4 separate regions of the Homo sapiens genome follow, and regions 1, 2 and 4 are each linked to region 3. The links are contacts of gene promoters, found by promoter capture Hi-C in blood cells and fetal thymus (Javierre and others, 2016). All regions are on one chromosome and are shown on one strand. The core of a region is centred on a gene start or on the middle of the fragment in contact, and the rest is flanking DNA. Distances in the headings are between cores, read along the strand shown.

The links. The method cuts DNA at HindIII sites, captures the fragments that hold promoters and counts their contacts. A CHiCAGO score of 5 or more calls a contact.
Region 1: a contact is called between a fragment that was not itself captured here and the fragment with the promoter of SLC18B1 in region 3, in 17 of 17 cell types (neutrophils, monocytes, M0 macrophages and 14 more). The highest score is 13.1, in neutrophils.
Region 2: a fragment that was not itself captured here is called in contact with the fragment with the promoter of SLC18B1 in region 3 in 1 of 17 cell types (total B cells); the score reaches 6.0 in total B cells.
Region 4: a fragment that was not itself captured here is called in contact with the fragment with the promoter of SLC18B1 in region 3 in 1 of 17 cell types (total B cells); the score reaches 5.4 in total B cells.

Annotation. Positions count from the first base shown.
Region 1 is chr6:132,521,383-132,525,421 of GRCh38, reverse strand. No RefSeq gene overlaps it. Among named protein-coding and RNA genes, the nearest start is that of STX7, 10 kb to the right of the region's middle. The HindIII fragment of the contact is 3,210 bases long and covers 1-2,979 here.
Region 2 is chr6:132,354,228-132,358,304 of GRCh38, reverse strand. The region is part of intron 4 of MOXD1 (monooxygenase DBH like 1); the gene reads left to right. Among named protein-coding and RNA genes, the nearest start is that of MOXD1, 45 kb to the left of the region's middle. RefSeq lists an enhancer at 2,735-3,934. The HindIII fragment of the contact is 798 bases long and covers 1,706-2,503 here.
Region 3 is chr6:132,797,177-132,801,148 of GRCh38, reverse strand. SLC18B1 (solute carrier family 18 member B1) reads left to right here and starts at 2,512. Exons shown (of 14, transcript NM_052831.3): 1 at 2,512-2,735. The coding sequence starts at 2,693. RefSeq lists a silencer at 2,445-2,494 and an enhancer at 3,726-3,972. The HindIII fragment of the contact is 1,643 bases long and covers 2,277-3,919 here.
Region 4 is chr6:132,298,311-132,302,412 of GRCh38, reverse strand. The region is part of intron 10 of MOXD1 (monooxygenase DBH like 1); the gene reads left to right. Among named protein-coding and RNA genes, the nearest start is that of MOXD1, 100 kb to the left of the region's middle. The HindIII fragment of the contact is 406 bases long and covers 1,379-1,784 here.

The DNA.
Region 1 (4,039 bases), core at 125-2,624, 270 kb after region 3:
TCCCTTGACCAACTTAGCCACTCATTTCTTTTCCTATTTAAGCGCACAAGAAAAATGAAACAAAGGGGTAGAACACAAAAATCCCTGCAAATTTCCAAAAGCCAAATTTTACACCCCCTGCAATTATGCCATTTACTACCAGTTTCTTTCTGACTGAGTCAGATGTGAGAGACCTCTAACTGGATCCAAGCCAGTTAATTACGGGATCCATTCTGATCTTGGACCCAGTCCAGTGTCTGTCGCGACTTCCAAATCCAGCTTGGATCAGAAATTTGCTCAAAGAAACTCAGAGTGTTCAAAACACAAATCTGTGGAGCCTCAGAATCCGAGCGAGAACTTAACCATATTCTCTAGCTGCTCTGAGAGAGCAACAGACACAATGGGTCCAGCGGGTACCTCCCTTGGTCACGCAGTGCTCATGGGGGTCGTTAGAAGCTCTACTTTAGATCCAATTTCTGATGCCATCTGATAAAAGAAAAACTTCAGCCAAATTAAATTTAAAGGAATTTGATTGAGCCAAGAAGATTCATGAACTGGGCAGCCTCCCAAACTAGAGTAAATTCTGAGACTCCAGTGCAGCCACATAGAGGAAGAAGATTTATGGACAGAAAAAAGGAAAGTGACATACAGAAGATAGGAGTAAGCACAAAAACAGCTGGATTGGTGACAGCCCCGCATTTGCCTTAACTGAACACGGTTCAAACAGTTGGCTACATTTGGCCAAAACTCAGTGATTGGTACAAGTGTAGGCTATGATCTGTACCTCCACTTGTTTGTAGTTCACGATGTACGGAGAAACCTTTAGGCTGAACTTAAAATACATAAGGAGGCAGCTTTAGGCTAAACTTGTTGTAACACTTTGCTCTTGCTACTGTAGGATTACTGTAAAACCTTAGTAAGTAAAGTTTTGCCTTAGGCTCTATTTTTCAAGACACTTGGACTAAGACTTCTGTGAATTGTCTATTATGAGCTTTTACTAAGTTTTCTAGTGTGGTGTCTTGGTTTGGTTTCTCTAGAAGCAGAAACTTGGGCTCAGAATGGAGAATTTGGAAAGAATTCTCACAGGAGAAGGGCAGTAAGAGAAGTTGGTTCCACAGCATGTTCTGAGAAAGACTGTGGTCTTGGCTGGAGACTTTTGGTTGGATCCCACAGGGAAGCTCTGGAGCACAAGTTGCACCACAGAATTAATTCCAACGTAAGTCCAGGGACTGATGTCAATTTGTCATTGGTTGAGGTTGGGGGGAGTCAGCGCATATTGACTCTGGGTGGGGCAGCTCCCTTGGGCCAAGGGCAATTTTCTAGAGTAGAAGGTAGCTGTGATTGGTGCTTAGCTGATTACTCACAGCAACTATGGATTGGTTACTGAGGCAGTCAAAGAGAACCTGGCTGAGGTGTCAATAACATCTACCACAGGAGGTTTGTCTATCTTATACTTTATAACAGGATGTAAAACATTTGTATTAGAGCTTGCAGGCATTTTCTCTTCATTTGTCATTCTCTTTCACTTTGTTTATGATTTTAATAAGACATTGTAAATGTTTGTGCCATAAATACAAATCATCTTCTTTAAGGTTCTTGCTTTTCTTGCCCTTTTCACTCAAAGTAGAAAAACAATTATTTGGATAGAAGGAATATGATACAGGTCATAGACCTGGCTCTACACAAAGAACTGAAGAGATTTAGAAATGGAATATGTAAAGGTAAAATAAAATTTTTTTCTCTTATTTTAAGTTACTCTAAAAGATGAATGACTTTGAGAGTATAACAATACTCTACATACATACAAAACCATACAATATTGTTTTCTGTATAACAATAGCAGAAGAAATGAGAAGAAGGATTTGGGAATATACTGTTATAATGTCCTTGCAAATACCTCATTTGAAAGTAGATTTAGGTTAATTTTTTAAAGAGGTAAAAATAATTTTTAGGAGGAATACACATAATAAGTCAATAGAGAAGATAAAATAGAATCATTTAAAAATTCCTGATAAAACCCAGGAAAGAAAGAAAAAGAGGAAAAATAAAAATAGAACAGACAACAGCTAGAGAGATGGTAGATTTTAATTCAAATTGTCAATAACCTTAAATTTAAATGATCTATACATACTAGTTGAAAGACAAAGAATTTAAAACAGAATAAAAAAACAAGACACAACTCTGCTGTCTACAAAATACTCACTTGTAATGTAAAGGCATGGATAGGACAAACATAAAAAGATGAAGATAGATCATATCAAACTGAATCAAATGAAATCTGAAGTAGCTACAATAACTTCAAACAAAATAGATGTCAAGATAAGGATTATTATTAGAGATAAAGAGGGGTACTATATAATAATAAAGGGGTCAATTCATCAGGAAGACATAACAATCCTAAAAGTGTTTACATATAACAACAGAACTTCAAAACACATAGGGAAAATCCTGAAAGATATGAAAGAAAAAGTAGAGAAATTTACAGTTCTAGTTGGAGACTTCAACCCTCCTCTCTTAGTAATTGATGAAATAAGTAGGGAGAATATCAGCAAAATCCCCCAAACACTACCAACTAACTTGAACTAATTTACACTTATAAAATATTCCACCCAACAGCAATATTACTCTTTCTTTTGTAGTGTACATGAAATACTCATTGATCATATTCTGGGCCAGCAAACAAAACTTAACAAATTTAAAAGAATATAAATCATACAAAGTATGTTTTCTGACCATAAAAATATACCAAATATTAATAAAATAAAATTATCTTAAACACCTCAAATATTTGGAAAATTAAACAATACATTTCTAAAAATCACCATGGGTCAAGAGGGTGTCTTAAGGGTTATTTAAAAAATAGTTTGAATGAAATGAAAGTAAAAATTCCAACATATCAAAATGTGTGTGACGCAGCTAAATCAGTACTTAAATGAAAATATATAGCAGTAAATGCTTACATAAGAAAAGAAGAAAGATCTCAAGTCAGTAACTTAAGCTTCCAGCTTAAGAAACAAGAGAAAAAAGGAGCAAATTAAACTTAAAGCAAGTAGAAGGAAGGAAATAAATATTAGGACAAAACTAAGTAAAATTGAAAACCAAAAAATAATAGAAAAAAAATCAATGGAACCAAAAGTTTAAAAAAATCGATAGTATTAATAAACCTGTTTCCAGGCTAAGAGATAAAAAGAGAGAAGATGCAAATTACAGTATCAGAAATAGAAGAAAGAATATTACTACTGATCCTGACACATCAAAGAGAGAATGGGGAATGCTACAAACAACCCTGTACATATAAATTCAACAACTTAGATGAAATGGACAAACCTCTTAAAAGAAACAAACTACCAAAACTCACTCAAGAAGAGATAGATCAACTGAATGGTCCTATATGTAATGAATGTGCTGTATAGTTAAAAGTCTTTAAAAACATATAAAGTAAGGCCCATATGGTTTCACTGGTGAATCCTCCTGATATTTAAGGACAAAATAAAGCCAATCCTACAAAATCTTTTTCAGAAAATAGAAAAGGAGGGGACACATTCCATTTATATGAGATCAGCATTGTCATGATGCTGAAACCAGGCAAAAACATTATAAGAAAAAGACAAGCAAAAACTCCAGACAATAGCCCTCAAAAATACAAATACAAGCATTATCAACAATATATTAGCAAATAAAATCCAGCAATATATAATAAGAATAATATATCACCACCAAGTGGGATTAATCCTAGCAACGCAAGGCTGGCTCAATATTTGAAAATCAATAACTATCTATTCACCACATTAACAGACTAAAAAGTAAAAGTATGTCATCAATAGGTGGAGAAAAAGCATTTGACAAAACTTAACATTAATTAATGATTAAAATTCTCAGCAAACTAGAAGTAGGAGAAAACATCCTTAACCTAGGAAAGGAAATCTTAAAAAACCTACAGCAAACTTCATGCTGTTCATCCTGCTTAGTGGTGAGAAACTGAATGCTTTCCTCCTAAGCAGAAACCCAGCACAAATGTCCTCTCTCGTTAGTACCATTCAGTGTCATAATGGAAGTTCTA
Region 2 (4,077 bases), core at 855-3,354, 440 kb after region 3:
GCTACACACATAGGTGTTATTAGTACGTGTATTATGAACACCATTTATTTAGTCTAGTAGGGGGAGCTTTAACACTTTATTTAACCTATATGAACCTAAGCTTGAAGGGCCCTTCCTGTCTTTCTGGTCACATAGACCTGATTTCAAATCCGGGCTCTACCATTTACCACTTATATGACCTTGAGTAATTTACAGAACTTTTCTGAATCCGTTTTCCCATTGGCAAAATGGAGATATGACCTATCACAATACTACTGTAAAGTTATTTGGAAAATGTTTATGGAACACCTGAGGCACAATAGATGTGAAATATTGTCATTTTATAGTAATCCTTCTTTCCTCTAACAGTCTAAACCTTCTGTTTGCTTTTGTCAACATTTTATTTCATGGTTGCAGAAAATGAAGTCCAGAGGAAAAAACTGCCTTTCTCATCCAGTTAATTAATTGAAATTGAGATTGAAATTTAGGTCATAAATTTTTATTACTTATCTCTATCTCTCCTTCAAAATATGAAATATAAAACAATTTCAAAGCAAAAAATACACCTAAGATTTATATCTCCATTTTATCATCTCTTAACTATCTATAATTAAATAATTTTTAAAGCTTTTCAAAAAGCTCTAAATTACTTGGATATTATTATCCAGTAATTTAGAACAGCTGGACACTCACTTTGATTTCATTGACTTTTCTGAGACATTTAAAAGAGGGAAAAATTGAAATATTTATATTTAACTAGATTTTTATATGGTATATTAGTTCCTTTATAACTTGGAATTCATTACTTTTACTATCTTTCCTTTTTATTTCTATACTTCCTTTTAAGATAAAGTTTAGTTCCTTTAAGAACTGGACTGCCAGATGAACCTGATTTGTTTAGTAAGGCAAACTCTTATTGTAAGTGTTTGTAAGATTCACAGTTGAATTACATTTACAAGGTTAGAGAACTAAGTTCTTTTTTCAGTGGTAAACAGGAAATGTCAGTACTCTGAGTAATATTTTCCACTCATATAGCAAATAGAATTTTCCAAAAGATTGTTAGTTCAGTCACATTTTTTTCAAACTATATTTACTCCAAGTGCTAAGAGATATTTTATGGGATAATTTATTTCTTCTTCAGCTTGAATTAATAATCAGATAAAATTCATATGTGATATGATGTGCTTCTGGACTGGCTTTTAACAATCTTGCAAAGAGGTCACAACTGTTGAGTTTTTATCTCTCATCATTTGAAAGATTAAGGAGTTTTTTTCTCTAGAGAACACTTTATTTTCTAATATGAGAATATTTTCTAACGTGTATTTGTTTCATTTCCAGTGTAATATATACTTCTCATAATAAGTAAAAAAGTAAAAAATATATAAAATAAAAAGTAGTAGTGCCCTCTTTCTCCAAATTCTACTTTCCTGAGGTGACTAATGCTAACAGATTTATTTGTATTTTTCTAAAACTTTATGCTGAAGAAAACATTTACAACATTTATATAGGATTTTTTTGGGTTAATCTCTTTTATTTGTAAACAAATTAGGATCACTCTATATCTATTACTTTGAATTTTGCTTTTCAAATTAATGCCCTCATCATTACTGGACAAAATATTATAACACATTATTTTTAATGTTTACATAATTTAATCTCCTATTATGTATAAACCATAATTTTTGCAGCCATACACTTTTGATGCACATTCAAGATGTTGTAAGCTTTTTGCTACCATAAACATTGCTTCAGTAAATGTTCTTGTAAGTATATCGTTATGTATTGGTGGTTTCATTCCTATACGCTAGATTGCTAAATGGATTGAATCAAGATTACATGTATTTCAAACTTTAATATATTTGTCAGATTACTTTATAAAATTCACACACTAGCTGTATGTGAATATTTTCTCATCCCTTCTTGAGCACTGGATATTTTAGTCTTTTAAATTTATTGCCTGTTAATGGATGAAAACTAATATTTCTGATTGCTTTGGCTTGCTTTCCTTAGACTACTAGTGAGGCTTATGCTCTTTTTATGCTCTCTTCTGTCAGTTTGCTGTTCAACCCTTTACCGATTTCTTTTTAAAACATTCTTTTATTGAATTGCCTAGATAAAAGTGCACAAACAGTATAAAACTCATTGAATTTTCATAAGGTGAACTGACTCATGAAACCAGAATCAAGATCAAGAATAGAGTATCAACTCAGAAGCGTCCTTTGCGTCCCCTCCCAGGTACTGTCTGTCCCCAGAGGTCACCAGTTTGCTGACTTAAATCACTCTTTACTAATTTTGCCTGTTGTGAATTTTTTGTAGGTAGACAGAAACGCTAGTGCTCTTCTGTGTCTGGCTTTTTTTGCCGAACGGGATGTGCAAGTTGGCCATGTTGTTTGTAGAAAATAATGTGTTCATTTTCATCTTTGAATTTCATTTTCTGAACATACCAGAATTTTTTATTCATTTTTATTGGTTAGCTATTTCTGTGAACCAAACCAACCCAAAGTTCAACAACTTTAAATAAGCTTTAAATGAAGAAGCACATGTTATAGTTTACAAGTCAGCTTGGTGGTTCTTCTGTTTGTAGCTGGGCTACAAACAGGTATGTAACCAGCTTGGGTTGGGTATGCAGCTTTCTAATAGTGCCTGGGCTCTCTCTTCTTGTTGGGAGTCAGCTGGTTGTAAGCAGGTCTAGGAGGCCTCAGCTGAACAAGTGGGCTCTCCTTTATAGTATCTTGTTCTCTAGAAGTCTAGACTGGGCTTGTTCAAATGGTGATGGCACAGTTCCAAAAGAGAGAGTAGAAACTGTAAGGCCACTTGAGGCTTGGTTTGGGATTAGCACGCCATTGCTCCTGCCATAAGAAGCAGGCCCAGCCTACATACCGGAGAATGGTGATAGACTCCAACCCCTGAAGGTCTAGTTTGTGGGAGAACTTTCTGACCTTACCTGGAGTTGAGTCAATTTAGAGAGCTGAGCAAAATACAGGGATAGAGGAAGCAGTGGGAAAGGACCTGGGAGCTCACTGGGTCCCTAAGCATGCCATCCCTGCTTGGTACCACAGGGATCTTTTGGGAGGGTGACCAGAGGCACAGGGTAAAATGCCACAGGGAGAAGGAAGTCCCCAGCTGAACTTTGTAACAATTTGAATCCAGCAAGAAGCCTCCTGGCCAGAACCTGGGGAAGGGCACGAATCTGGTGTGCAGACTCCACGGGTGAGGGAAGAACCAAATCCTTTTTCTTCTGCACCTGGGAAGTGGCTAGTCTGGGGCAAGTTCTCAAGCCGTGCTCATCTACTGCCTGGAAACAGGATGTTGGGGGAGGGGCATGATGGGAGGGAGACCAGCCCTTCAGATTGTGTGGGAGCTGAGTGAGGCCTGTGACTGTTGGTTTTCCCCTACTTCCCTGGCAACCTGCATGACTCAGCAGAAGCAGCCATGATCCTCCTAGGTAGATGACTCCATTGACCTGGGAACCTCACCCCCATTCCCCACAGCAGCTGCAGCAAGACCCTTCCAAGGAGAGTCTGAGCTCAGACACACCTAGCCCTGCCCCCACCTGATGGGCCTTCCCTACCCACCCTGGTAGCTGAAGACAAACGCTATATACTCTTGGGAGTTCTAGGGCCCCGCCCACCACCACTTCCTCTTCGTACCACCACAGCTGATGCTCTCTGGAAAGTGCCACCTCCTGGCAGGACGCCAACCAGCACAAAAATAGAACTTTAAATCACCAAAGGTAAGAACCCTCACAGAGCCCATTTCATCTCCCTGCCACCTCCACTGGAACAGGTGCTGGTATCAATGGCTGAGAGGCCCATAGACAGTTCACATCACAGGGCTCTGTGCAGACAAACCCCAGTACCAGCCTGGAGCCTGGTAGACTTGCTGGGTGGCTACACCCAGAAGAGATATAACAATCACTGCAGCTTATCTCACAGGAAGCCACATCCATAGAAAAAAGGGGAGAGTACTATATTAAGGGAACATCCCCTGGGACAAAATAATCTGAACAGTAGCCTTCACCCGTAGACTTTTCCTCTGACAGAGCCTACCCAAATGAGAAGGAACCAGAAAACCAACTCTGGTGATATGACAAAACAA
Region 3 (3,972 bases), core at 1,263-3,762:
AGGTGGGAGGATCAGTTGAGCTCAGGAATTTGAGGTTGCAGTGAGCCATTATATGTCATGGTAGCTTGGGAAACAGAGTGAGACCCTGTCTAAAAAAAATAAAATAAAATAAAAGAGAGAAGAAAAAGAGAAATAAGTAAAAGGACCAGTTTGGGTGACCCAACATTCACATAAAGTGCAGTCCAGAAAGAAAATAAAAGAGGAAATGTAATCATCAAAGAAATCATTCAAGAAAATTTCCCTCTACAGATTGATGTTAGATTGAAGAGAAAGCATAGAGTTAAATGAGATTGGAGAAGCTGTCAGGGGTTAGATCATAAAGATTTCATAAGGCTACTTTAGGGAAACTTTGCTAGATTGGAACTTTCTTTTCTTTTCTTTTTTTTTTTTTTTTTTTTTTTTTGAGATGGAGTTTCACTCTTGTTGCCCAGGCTGGAGCACAATGGTGCTGTCTTGGCTCACCACAACCTCTGCCTCCTAGGTTCAAGCGATTCTCCTGCCTCAGCTTCCCGAGTAGCTGGGACTACAGGCATGCGCCACCATGCCCAGCTAATTTTGTATTTTTAGTAGAGACAGGGTTTCTCCATGTTGGTCAGCCTGGTCTCAAACTCTCGACCTCAGGTGATTTGCCTGCCTCGGCCTCCCAAAGTGCTAGGATTACAGGCGTGAGCCACAGCACCTGGCTTAGAGTGGAACTTTCTGTTCAGAGTGGTTCTCTAGGTTCTCCTTTACAACTTGCCCACTGGGGAATTTTTTTTTTTTTTTTTTTGAGATGGAGTCTCGCTCGGTTGCCCAGGCTGGAGTGCAATGGCATGATCTCTGCTCACTGCAACCTCCGAGTCCCAGGTTCAAGCGATTCTCCTGCCTCAGTCTCCTGAGTAGCTGGGTGCCATCATGCCCAGCTAATTTTTGTATTTTTGTAGAGACGGGGTTTCACCGTGTTGGTCAGGCAGGTCTCGAACTTCTGACCTCGTGACCCGCCCACCTCGGCCTCCCAAAGTGCTGGGATTACAGGCGTGAGCCACCGCGCCCGGCCCTCACTGGGGAGTTTTTACATAACCTTCAAGAACCAAGGTAACATCACTTCCTCAGGAAGTCATCCAGGACCCATTTGCCAAAGTAAATGGTTCTTCCAATATGTTTGTATACAACCGATTGCATTATAGTAGATTATTAATTAGTGTGAATTTCATCTGCTAGAAGGTGTGCTACTTGAGGGCAGAGTCTGGATGGGGCTCATTCCTCTTTAAATTCATAATGCCTGGCACAAAGTGGTAACTCAGTCTTTTGTTTTGCTTTGGCTTCAAAACAAGAATTTCCCAGTCCTTAAACTTTATTTATTTATTTGAGACAGAGTTTCGCTTTTTCACCCAGGCTGGAATGAGGTGGCACAGTAATTACAAACTTACTATCAGCCATACTGTGTACTGGAACTGACCTTGTACAGTGGATCTGAGGCAGATTCTCAGTCGATAAAGCTACCCTCACACAATTCTTTTGGATCTTGGCTCACTGTAACCTCCGCCTCCCAGGTTCAAACGATTCTCCTGCCTCAGCCTCCCTAGTAGCTGGGATTACAGGTGCCTGCCACCACGCCTGGCTGATTTTTTTGTATTTTTATAGTAGAGACAGGGTTTCACCATGTTGGCCGGGCTGGTCTAGAACTCCTGACCTCAGGTGAGCTGCCCACCTCGGCCTCCCAAACTGCTGGGATTACAGGCATGAGCCACCGTGTCCAGCCAGTCCTCGAGCTTTAACACTTCCCAAATAGTAAATACGGTGAAAATAAGTGAAACCTATTTTTTATGCAAGAAAACTGTGAGTGTGAGAGTAAGGTAGCAGCCATCATGTTCATGTGCTAACTACTAACACACTTTATCGCCAATGCTCACAGCCGCCCTACGAGATAAACATTATAATCTCAGTTGTACAGGTAGAGAAACTGACCTTGTCATCCAAAGTTACACACTGCCAGCAAGTGCCCTGGCTTGAATCCCTGGCACCTGCCTCCAGAGGTCGCACTCCTAGCCACTTCGCCATGCTTCCTCGATATTCATTAGTATTCTTGCAAATATTTTTCGACTCCAGGTGCTTCACATAGGTTAATTCATTTCCGGTTCAATAGTGTCTGGCTTCAGTAATTACGAACACTACCGCATTTACCCACTGTGAAAAATAATTCACTCTTTCAAAGTTCCTGTATAACCTAATTTTCTAATTCACTTTTGTGTCTTTCAGTTGAGGTACTCCCTGCCTTTTCTGTGTCTACATAAGCTTCCTTTCTTTCGTTTCGTAGGAATAAATTGAACTTATTTTAAGATTGAGGGGGGTACAGCTGTATGGAATATAGACTCATCTTTTTTCACTCTCTGTCACAGAATGAAAAAGGACACCATGATATAGCAGCTGAGGTGGTGGATTAAGATAATGAGGCGGGGGGGGGGCGCAAAACAAAAAAAAAAGGAGCCTTGCTCCACCCCTGCCCCGCCCCCGGCCTCCTCCCGGGGACCCAGAGTCCTGGAAGGCTTTGGGGAGCTCCGGGCCGGGCGGATCGCTGCCTGCAGGGAGTCGGGGATGCCAGGTTCCAGCTGAGCAGCGGCCGCCCGCCAGAGTGCCAGTGGCTCCTTGGAGGTCGAGTCCAAGGACGTGGCTTGAAGCCGGGAGCTGGGGCGCCGGAGTCCACGCACCGGGGATGGAGGCGCTGGGTGACCTGGAGGGACCACGCGCACCAGGAGGTGACCATGAATTGCGTGGCCGGGAGCCCGGAGACCAGCGGCGGCTTCCGGCGTGTCTCTTTAGCAACGATTGAATTGCTTATAGCTTGATCTGTTTCCGAGAGATTGGAAAAGGCTGGGGCCTGATCGTGGGGTTCGGGCCAGCGTTTCTTTTCTCTCTGGACGGGGTAAAGTTCCAGGATTGGATATGTGTCACGGTTTCTAATGACTTTCTAACCTATACCTCTGCTTTTTAAGTACTGTGTGTTTAATGCATTCAAATAAGTATGCCATTAGGCAAATGTAAAACGTTACCTTTCAAGTACCCATTGTTGTTGCCTTTCTTTTTAACTTTCATTTCCCTTTCTCATCTACTACAAACATTTTACAAAGATTCGTAAGACTTCCTCATGTTGCACTGATTTTTTTTTTCCTTCTGGACTGCAATGGCAACCTCTGACAAATAGAGCAAAGCAAATGTATTTCTCTTAAGTTTTTCCTAAAAACAATTTAATTTATAAATGGCTGATGGATTTGCTTGGATATTTGGAACTCAGTAATTGATTTCGTGTTTTTAAATGACAATTTAGCCCTGGAAATAAGTGTTAAATTAACTGATGTAAAAGACCAGTAATTAGGGTAAAAAAAAAGTATTTATTTATGAATTTGTGGGACTTGTCTATCCAGAAGCATACCGCTGTAAATATTAATTCACCAGCTGAATGATTTAGCTTGTTTTCTCCTACTTACACTTCATTTGACTTCAATACTGCCTTAGAAATCTTTGTTTTTTGTTTTTGTTTTTGTTTTTGTTTGTTTGTTTTGTTTTGCTTTTTTGAGACGGAGTCTCTCTCTGTAGCCCAGGCTGGAGTGCAGTGGTGCGATCTTGGCTCACTGCAAGCTCCGCCTCCCGGGTTCACGCCATTCTCCTGCCTCAGCCTCCCGAGTAGCTGGGATACAGGGGCCCGCCACCACGCCCGGCTAATTTTTTGTATTTTTAGTAGAGACGGGGTTTCACCGTGTTAGCCAGGATGGTCTCGATCTCCTGACCTCGTGATCCGCCTGCCTCGGCCTCCCAAAGTTCTGGGATTACAGGCGTGAGCCACCGTGCCCAGCCGAAAGCAGTACGTTTTCAAAACGGCAGTAATGTACAAGGATTGTGTTCCATTTGATCAAATGTGCTATATTCAAAATAGCCCTAAGCTTAGCAAATGATATCTTCAGAGTGCAACATATGTGCACAGAAATCACATTTGTG
Region 4 (4,102 bases), core at 332-2,831, 500 kb after region 3:
GATTTTTTCTTCTAGTTTAGATTCACATTTACATACTTGTTGATGTGTTTAATAATTTTTTGACTAGACATAGACAACAGGACATTATGCACATTCTGTTAATTAGTACTAGGTTGTTTTTATTTCTTTAAAGAACCTTGTTAGCGTGAGTCTAGAATAGATGTTTACTCCGTGTAGTCAACAGAGACATTCCACTCTGGCTAGTTTGAGCTCAAATGTCTGCTAGCTCTATACAGGCTCTGGGAATTGTTTAGGTCACAATCTTCTAGTTGTTCATTGCCCAGTCTTGTGGATTTTACCCTAAATATAGTTGGCTTATTGCTTAGTTACTGACTCAGAGGATCCTTATACAAATTTTTCCTCTGCAGTAGTCTACCTTGAATATGTAAGCTTCTTCAGACTCCCTTAACTCTGGTCTTCATCTCCTTAACTTATTGAGATCGTCATTTTCTGTTTCGAAATTCCCTTTCCTGCATTCTGGTTCAGAGAATGCTTCTAGGCAGAAAGCTGGGATGAACATAATATTCAAACACCTTATTTGTTTCCTTCCTTTTGGGGATCATAGTTCTGTGCTATTTTCCAATGTCCAAACCAGCTGTTTCATATGGTTTGTCGAATTTTGAGTTTTTTACAGGAAGTTAGTGTCAGTTACTCCAACATGGCCAAAAGTGGAAGTCTGTTAATGAATTTTTGTTCCTTTTGCTAGTTTTTGATCACATGTTTACTTGCTTGATGGATGGAGAGTGTGTAATATAGTTCATTTAGCTATAAGTACATGGACTTTGTTTCTTGGTTAAATCTTCCATCTCTCTTCCTTCCTTCTCCTTCTCTACCCCGAGAAAGACATTAGCAATAAAACTTTTAAAACAGGAGTCCAGAGAGGCTCAGATAAGAAATGTAACCACAGATTATTTTTCTCCATCTGCTTTTCAATTTATATAGAACAGAGGGACCAAGTATAAAAATCATTAAACTTTTAAAATTTCCATTGATCAGTTTGAATTTATAAGAATAAATAGCTTTATGTTCCACTTAAAAATTTAAAAAATTACTCTACCATGGTGTATTGCAGTCAACTTTGCTATCTTCTTAGAAAAACATGTCTCAGAGTTTAGATGGAATTTACAAAGGAAAATTACCCATCAATATTAAAGCATAATAATAACACTGTTTTTTATTGACTACAGTAATATATATATATATATATATATATAATACCATTCGTTTACATGTATGTATGGAGAGACATTTACACACTGACAAGATATGCAGAAATGTAACTTTTTATTTCTGTAACATTCCCAATTATTTCCAACTAATCCCTAATCCCAGTAAAAGCAGAAATACTTGCTACTTTAAGGTTACCTGGTTTAAAGCTTAGTCTTTTTGAAAAAAAGTATTCAGGATAAATATTCACTTTTTCTGTCTGCTCTTTTCTCTAGGAAATAATTTGGAAGTGTGTAGGATAGGCTAGAAAGGTTAGAGATGACAAGTAGGATGTTTATTAGTATAAAGTTATTATAGAACAGGGGCCTAAACCAAGTTAGTGGGAGTGGAAAGGAGATGATAAATATGAGACAAAGATGCCATCTCAGAAAGGTTGATGACCACATCCCCAGGTCACCCAGCCTCAGTCATTCTGTCTCCAACATACGCGCCATTGGGCTTGGCCTTTCTACATATCTGTTCTAAAAACTGACAAATGGGGTTACACCTCTTCTGTCACTTTATGTTGGACAATCTCAATAATAGGCAATTTAGTAAATTATTATAGCAGCAAAGCTTTTTAAGATTTCATCTGTGTATAATGGTCACACTATTCACTCTTAACAGCGGGGCACCAGAGGCTTTAGGCAACCTAAGCACCATAGTAAAGCTGTCGTGCCACCTTGTGGTGTTTCAGATGGTTACAGACTGATGATTTTCCCCTAGCATTTATCTGGTTATAAAATTGATTTTCTCTTTTTCAAATTAGGCATTTTATCTTTTTGAAAAGTAAATTTTATTTTTAATAATTGACTTAAAATGATCAATAGCTGTAGCTTTTAGTGCTTTTAAAAGGACATTGTATGCAAATATAATAACTTCTTTCAAGTCAAGTTTTTGCTTGATACTAATTCTGGATTGTGTCTCTACAAAATTGTCACAATATGTTTAATTTTCAAATGCTATAGATTTTAGGCCATTGCTAGGTATGTTTATGTAATGCAATGCTGATTGCTCTTACTTTATGGGGCTTCACTTTAAGGTCTTTGTATAAAATAATGCATTTAAAACTCAACAAAGATATATATTGATTCTAATTAAAGGAAATTATGAAAAATGTAAAGATCTATATATATTACCTATTTTCCTCATTGTCTCACTTATTAGATATGGAAGAAATATTTCAAATTTAGACATAAAAAATTATCTTTATAACTCCAAGAAATTAATAAGGAACTTTTAATTTACTTAAAAAGATGATATTCAATGTGCCTGAGTGGGTTATGTATGTTAAGAGAGAGAGAGAGAGAGAGAGAGGGAGAGAGAAATGACATAAATAAATTTTAAAAATATGAAGATTAATGTATATTCTTCAGCTGAGATTATTTGATAATTATAGAAATTACTGTAACATCTTGGGATGTTATGAGTGCCAGATACTTTCTAGTCACCATGATAATTTCCTGCAAGGTCCATGGATTAATGTAAAATTTTGTGACATGCCAGCACTTACACTTTTCCCTTTTTCAGGAATCAATAATATAAAACTTATATTTAATGAAAGACAACACCTGAAAACTATCTTTTCAAGCAAGTTATGTCATTCACTTTTTCACTTCACTTTTTCTGTCACTTCTTCTGTCTGCTCATGTCATTCTTGTGATTTCTTTTTCCTTTCTTGAATATTTGGCATGTGATTTTTGGAGTGGCAGGTGAAGGCAGAGTGTATTCTATATAGGGTATTTTTTTTCTCAGTACATTTTTAAAATTTCAACTTTTATTTTAGGTTCAAGGGATGCATGTTTAGGTTTGTTACAATGGTATATTGTGTGAAACTGAGGTTTAGAGTATGAATGATTCCATCACCCAGGTAGTGAGCCAGGCACCCAACAGGTAGTTTTTTCATTCTTGTCTCCCTCTCTCCCTCTCTCTCTAGTAGTTCCCAGTGTCTGTTTTTCCCATCTTTATGTCTATGTGTATTCAATGATTAGATCCCACTTATATGTGAGAACACGCGGTTTTTGGTTTTCTGTTCCTGTGTAATTCACTTAGGATGATGGCCTCCAGATGCACCCATGCTGCTGCAAAGGACATGATTTCTTTCTTTTTTTGTGTGGCTACATAGTATTCCATGGTGTATATGTACCACATTTTCTTTATCTAGTCCACCTTTGATGGACACCTTGGTTGATTCCATGTCTTTGCTATTGTGAATAGTGCTATGATGAACATACAAATGCATGTGGTCTTTTTGGTAGAACTATTTATTTTCCTTTGGGTGTATAGCTAGTAATAGGATTACTGGGTTGAATGGTAGTTCTGTTTTAAGTTCTTTGAGAAATCTACAAACTGCTTCCACAGTTGGCTGAACTAATTTACATCCCCACCAACAATGTATAAGCATTGTCTTTTCTCTGCAACCTTGCCAATATCAGTTGTTGTTTTTTTTTGCATTTTAATAATAGCCCTTCTGACTGGTGAGATGGTATCTCACTCTGGTTTTTATTTGCATTTTTCTGATGATTATTAGTGATGTGGAGCATTTTTTCATGTTTTTTGGCCTTATGTATGTCTTCTTTTGAGAAATGAGTAAAATTTTTGAAGCATTGATCAAATCACATTTTTTGTTGTATTTGTCTTCTCACTTAGCTAAGCCAAAACAGATCAGCCAGCAGGGGTCAGGCTTTTATAGTGTATGGGTTTGAACTTTCCATCTCTCACAGTATCTTTTAGGAACCTGCAGGTTTCTTGATTACACCATTAGCATTGTACTTTTCAGAAATGAATGCTTACCAGTTAATTTTTTAACTAGAACCAAACCAAATTAATGTAGAATTGTGAGACTCTGTAGAAGCTTTCTGAGACAAAATTATTTGTTTAAATTTTGACCGGGCAT